2 separate regions of the Homo sapiens genome follow, and region 2 is linked to region 1. Evidence: promoter capture Hi-C in human tissues and cell types (Jung and others, 2019). All regions are on one chromosome and are shown on one strand. The core of a region is centred on a gene start or on the middle of the fragment in contact, and the rest is flanking DNA. Distances in the headings are between cores, read along the strand shown.

What was found. Contacts are between HindIII fragments. The study calls those that stand out against the background at their distance.
Region 2: a fragment that was not itself captured here is called in contact with the fragment with the promoter of LURAP1L in region 1 in 4 of the 25 tissues and cell types used here (adrenal gland, dorsolateral prefrontal cortex, heart left ventricle and 1 more).

The regions. Positions count from the first base shown.
Region 1 is chr9:12,773,373-12,776,650 of GRCh38, forward strand. LURAP1L (leucine rich adaptor protein 1 like) reads left to right here and starts at 1,648. Exons shown (of 2, transcript NM_203403.2): 1 at 1,648-2,655. The coding sequence starts at 2,344. All of the region lies in intron 2 of LURAP1L-AS1 (LURAP1L antisense RNA 1), which reads right to left. The HindIII fragment of the contact is 5,707 bases long and covers 1-2,224 here.
Region 2 is chr9:12,852,844-12,856,121 of GRCh38, forward strand. No RefSeq gene overlaps it. Among named protein-coding and RNA genes, the nearest start is that of LURAP1L-AS1, 40 kb to the left of the region's middle. The HindIII fragment of the contact is 5,054 bases long and covers 1-3,278 here.

The DNA of each region.
Region 1 (3,278 bases), core at 398-2,897:
TCCTTCAAAAGTTTACATTTTTTTATATTTCACTGGAACAAAGTTACTTTGCATATACATCACACTTTTACTCTCAGAGGAGTTTCTCCTGCAGACTTCTTTAAAAAACTATATACATATATACATACATATACGTATATATTAAATTATCCTCAGCCTCAAATACTGATTTTGCAGTCTGTGATTCATAGCAGAAGAGGTGTCCCATTTTTCTATATTGACACACGATAATTTGACATTTGTTTTTTACTGACCAATTTCTAGCTAGATATTTCATCTATAAACTGCACTTAGCCAGCCTTATGCTGAACTTTGTAAGGGTTTTGTAATAATAAACTGTTCTTGACTGAAACACAAGCCTTTCATAATTACATGCCACAGTGCAATTCTTATGCAACGAGCTTGTGTTTTTCCAAATTTAGGACCAAGCATGTAGTTTTATCAGTTAGCTGGGATTTGGTCTTGTTTTCCCTTGATTCTGTAAGTGGTAGTTCTAACTTTGAAATGGGTCATCTAACTTATAACTATTTTCTTCATTTCTTTTTAAAAGGGAGAAATAGCATGCAAATTTCTGGCATGTTGATAGAAAGTTCAGCATTTTTTCCCTGACATGAAATATTTCATTTAGAATGCGTATGTTTCCTCTACGTATAAGGTTTCCTAGAGTCAGATATGATAAAAACAAACTCTGAGATGTATATACCTATGTTCCTACAAGTGTAAAACCTGAATGATGTCTCTGGAAATGGAGCCTCGGAGTGACCAGGAACACAAATACTTATATGTCACAGAAATAGAGGGGCACATACTTTGAAATATTTCAATGGAAATCAAAAATTGTAGTTTACTGGATTGAAATTAGTATCCTCTACTTAAACATTTTTGACACAAACTCAATGCTGATTCAGATCTGTAATCCATGTAGCTCATAATAACTTACTTGGTAGAAGTATTTCAGATTAATGAATTGTACAATTGTACAAATTAATAAATTGTACAATTGTTCAACTATACAATTAATTGTACAATTTGTATAGTTGAAAAAATCTATAAATTAATTTATAGATAAATTATCAAAGAAGACAACATTTTAAATAGTTATTCCCAATATTTTTTCTTCCATAATTAAAATAAAAGTAAGTATCTCAGCAATTGCTTGTTCTTAAAATTTCACTGCTATCTCAGCAGTCATGTAAGTTATTCTGGCTATTTAATTTTTCACTTTTGTTTGCATACTGTAACAGTTGGTAGGATAATTAATTTTGATTGTACATTTCCATTGAACTTTTGATGAAATTGTTTCACTCTTTTTATTAGAATAAAATTATTAGGAAAGTCTTCTAAAGAGAGGTTTTCTGTTTGTTTTTCCTTTGAGGAAGGTAGAGAGATGGGAAACGAAGACACCAAATATAAAGTCATTCCTCTATCTCTCATTTTAAAACCTGTTTTAAAGGTTGTAGCTAGTCAGGAAAACTGAAAAATCAACTGGTATTCCTAACTAAAGCAGGGCTTTGAAACTCTGCTACTAGCGACAGGGTTGGGAAAATTCCGGTTGCTCTTCTTGTCTGTGATATACGGTAGAAGGGTTGGTCCTGGTTTGGTCCACCTGCCAGCGGAGTTTAAAGTTTCCGAGGCTCAGAGGAACACAATGACTTGGATCAAACAGCCTAAATGGGAAGAAGGACATTTTTGCTGCATCAAGGAAGCCGTTAAACTCCTGCTAAGCTAACTAGCTCTTTTTTATGGGTCCATGCACACGACCGAACTCCTCTTTCACTGACCAGAGATTATTTCTGACAACCCAGGATATCCCGAAAGCTTGGAGGCATATGGCTGGAAAATGAAACGACCCAGGACATCGTTTCTGGCTGCATCATTATTTTGTGTCGCGTAGTACCAGATGGGCAGTCAGTGAGCGGCGCAGGGATGTGAACGGACGGTTTTATAATGTGAAAATTTTCCCTTGGTAAAGCTAAAACAGATTTAATTTCCCTCTCTTTTCTTTCACTACTTCCCCCTCTTTATTCCCCCTCTGTCTGCAATATCAGTGAACTCAACTTTGCAGTGAGGTGGCCAAAAAGAGAGAGAATGAGGAGATCTTGATCATCTTAGTGTCGGAGGAGTCGCAGCGGACTGGGAACTGCAGCTGCGACCCCCCGCGTCCTGTGCGGATTTCAGGGCTGATACCGCATAGGCGGTTATGGAAAGGACGGTACACCGGAGCGGCGGAGGATAGAGACCCTGGCCCCCGGAGAGGTCTGCTGATTTCGCAGCAGCCTTCGAAGCCGTGGCTGCCTTTCATCTGCTGCGTTTTATTACTATTATCGCCGTTCCGGAAAAGTCATGGAAGACAGCCCGCTGCCAGACCTCAGAGACATCGAGCTGAAGCTGGGGCGCAAAGTACCCGAGAGTCTAGTGCGCTCTCTCCGTGGGGAGGAGCCGGTTCCCAGGGAAAGGGACAGGGACCCCTGCGGGGGGAGCGGTGGTGGTGGCGGCGGCGGCGGCGGCTGCAGTAGCAGCAGCAGCTACTGCAGCTTCCCTCCCTCCTTGTCGTCCTCCTCTTCGTCCTCCCCAACCTCTGGCTCCCCACGAGGTAGCCACTCTAGCGCCCTGGAGAGGCTAGAAACCAAGCTTCACCTCCTCAGGCAAGAGATGGTGAGTGTGGTGCGCCAGCCGCGGGGGCTGGGACCTGGGCTGGGCCAAAAGATGGGGCGATCTGAGAATGGGGCTGGGAGAGAGGACGGCAGGGGCTGCAGAGCGGAGCGCTGGGCGCGTGGGAAATGCTGGGTGGAGGAATGAGCAGGGGGCGCTCATCCGGAGGCAGCTGCTGCGAGGCTTGTTTACCGCGGACTTTGCTCGGTCACGGTTTGCAAAGACAGCACAGTCGGCTGGCTCCACTCTGTGTACTTTCGGACAACGCGACTCACTGCGCCGGGCTCTATTTAGCTGCCAGCCCGTAGCCTCTTAGGCACCAGCCCGTTGAGAGTTTGCAGTTATTGCACCCATCTAAGGCCTGCTGTGCGCTGTTAACACTTCGGGTAGGTTCAAAAGGTGGCTCAGTCCAATGCACTTACTGCAAAAATACTTCCTGGTTTGCCGGGAGGTGGCGTGGCAGGGTCCTTGCAGCCTTTCCTCCTAGCTCACCCTTCCACCAGTACCGCTCCGCCCTCCTGCCCTCCCTTCTTGGTGCAGCAGCCGCAGCTGTTCCAAGGCCACTGTCGAGCAGATTCTCCACAGCTGGTTCTGAAAACAATGGCCTACTCGTCCTTGATGTACTT
Region 2 (3,278 bases), core at 413-2,912, 79 kb after region 1:
TTTTCAGTATCTATTTCAGCCACAGACCAAGATCACAAGAAGACAGCACATGTACAAAGATACCTGATACCAAAAGCTCAAGAGTAAAGCCTGGGTTAAAGATGAAGCAAAGGTTGACAAGGCATTCAAAACTAAGCTTGATTGTTGTGACAATATAGTAATAATGAAGGAGGAGCAACTTAACTGCTGACAACTGGGAAATGTTTCAGTGGATCTGAGCACATCAATGAAATAAAATAGTATACATCCATGGGAAATGTTAGCTTCAAAGAGTCTTTAATGGCATGATGTATCAAATACCTCGTGGAGCATTGCAGATGCTATTGACCTATTAACCTTGCCTTTCGGTTGGTCTAGCTGTGCTGCTGACTGAGTCACATAAGTTTAAGCTGACAGAGCCAATACAGAGCTTCTTCCTTCTGCCCAAGCCTTCGCTGTTGACATTGAGATGTGGCTCACCACTGACACACATGCAGAGAAGTTAATAACCTGCACCGCAAACTACAGACCTGTGGGAAAGAGTAGCTGGTGAATAAATTCTTTCCTTTTCCCCCCATGATTGACAATCCTATGATATAGACTGTAAGCCTTCTTAGAGAATGTTTCCATGAAACTGAGCTCTCAGTTGTGCTTAGCAGCAGTTAAATTGAAAATATTTATATTAGTTTTCCCTCCTTCGCTGTTTCATTCACCCTTTTTCTTATTCCTACTCCCTGAAATTGCACTCCCTAATGAAATAATAGCACGTACGGCTTTGCCTCAAATTCTTCTTTCTGCAGAAACTAGGTAAAACATTTAGACTGATCCTAGAAAGAAGACGTTCAGGCCAGGATTTGGGGACTGAAATATCCAGTTTTTGAACGGCACCAAGCACTTTGGTCACTCACTAGAGTTATATTACTCTCCTGCTACCTACTATATTACTTGTGGAGTCTTAGATAATCTTTAATGGAACATCAAACTGGCACATTAACTTGATGATATCCTACTTATTTGAGTTGGTGAGCAGGAATGACAAATACATGATATGCTTTAGTAAGATATATGTATGTTAGAGGATTACAAATAGACTCCATGAATCCTCAGGAGTCTGCCACATTTGTAAAGCTTTTCTGGGTCCAGTGGCCCAGGGTCTATTGAGTAAAGAATGTGGTTGCACCTTAAATCTCATACCAAGAAGAAAAAGACAAAGCAGTTATATACTGTTTAAATTTAGGAGGCCACATATATTACTTGTGCTGAAACCCATTTATTTGGAGACTTAAAAGACTACTAATTTTGAATGGTAGTCTGAGTAAAAGAGAAATCTATAGCAAGTCCAGACTGCTGTAGGGAATGTTGGTCTTGCCATTTGAACCATAGACTGGTTAATAAAGTGGATGTCGATGGTGAATAAGTGTGCTGTGTGGAGTCTCTGTCAAACCCTAATGAAAGATGCACAGTGTAGACCCCTAGGATTTTGGAACAAAACCTTCTTGACAAAATGTACTCTCTGCTTCATAGTTCCTAAGTACCTGGACATTCATAGAGTCTAAATGAGTAATTGTGGTTTACAAAGTGACTATGCAACTGAAACTGCCCATCATAAACTAAGATTTATCAGATCTGGGTCAAAGTACAGGGTATGTTGCACTATGAACAGGTTTTAGGTTCTATGATACAAATTGTATTTTGGGGATCGGGCCTGAGCAGTTTCAGAGAGCATAAGTAACAGGTGATTGGATTCTTGTATCAATTACCCTTATCACACTGACAACTTGACTTCAACTGACACTGGTGGCCATATGGGAATTTTGTTTTGTTTTGTATTGTATTGTTTCTGTAGATGGAAACTCAGTATGTCGCGTGGCTGGACTCAAACTCCTGGGTTCAAAAGATCCAATCACCTCAGCCTCCTAAGTAGCTGGGAACTACAGGTTAATGCTACCACACCTGACTTGGATGGGCAATTTTTATAATTAACAGTATCAGAGAAGAAATGAACCTGAGTCTGGTTCATGGATGAATTGGCACAATATGTTAGTGCTGAAAATTAAATTGCTACCATGTTGAAACCTTGTGGAAGGTGGTGCTAAGAAACCATGCTGAGCTGTGAGCCATCAGGTTTTAGATGAGCCGGTGTGTATGTGAAGGGAGAAGTGGTTGGAGGCCGAACTAGAAGCAAAGACTTCCAGGCAGTGACAAAGGTTTTGGATTGTTGGTAAAGGGCCAGGAAGGAAAAAATATTGAGAAATTGATACAAGAAAATATGAGAATACCAGGAGCTCTGAGTTGTGCAAAATGTTTACTATATTACACCCAAGAGGGACTTCAGGTTTTCTCAGCCCCAACTGCCTCTTGTTCCAGCTGCCACTGTGGTGCAGATGTGTGTGTTCCGACGAACCTTAGGTAGGTGCAAGCTGACAGTTTCGTGCCTATACTTGCCCCTTCCACCTCCTATTTGGGACTTTCCTGTTGAAGCCAAGGCTTAAGATACAATCAGACCCCACTGTGCCCCATTTTGTACCTAAGCACACACAATGCAGAAATGTGGGAGAATGTATATCCTGTGGTGAACTGGCGAGCAAAAGTGCAGCCACTGTATAAATGTTCTTCTTTTTTTCCCAGAGATGAAATGTGCTAATATAGGGGTTATGAAATTTCCTAGAGGATGGGCCCCAAGACCATGTAATCTTATTGTCAGCCAGCTTAATATCGTGTCTCTGTATTAGCGTTTTCCCTTCCTTGCTTTTATTTCCTTTGCCCCCTAGATTATAATACAAGCTAAAGTCCCAGGCTCTTCTTTCTGAAAAACCTATGGTAAGGCACATGGGAAAATCATCATGGTATAAAGTTATGTGAAAAAAAACAAGATACGAAATTCTATATTAGAATGATTCCAGTTTTATATAATTGATGTCTAGAAAGAAGTATTAAGAATAATATATTGAAAGTTAGAGCATTGACAAGTATTACTACAGGGAAGCAGGACTAAAAATATTTACTTATTTATTTATTTTTACATTCTCTGGTTCCCAAATTTCTTACAGTGAACATGCGTGCTTTCAAAACCTGAAAAAAATTTCTATGGGAGAAACTGTCAGTAGATTTCTGCAACAAAAAGGGCATAGTCATGGTAAGGTACACAGCAAACCAAATGTCATGGGAAACAAGTATGGAAATCAAAACCAAGAAAATCCAAGGTCAAAATGTCAGAAGCTAACCAAGGGATAAGGCTAAGGGATAAGAGAAGATAAGGAGTTTGGTCCTGTATAGTTTACAGTGGCTGTCTTATTTGG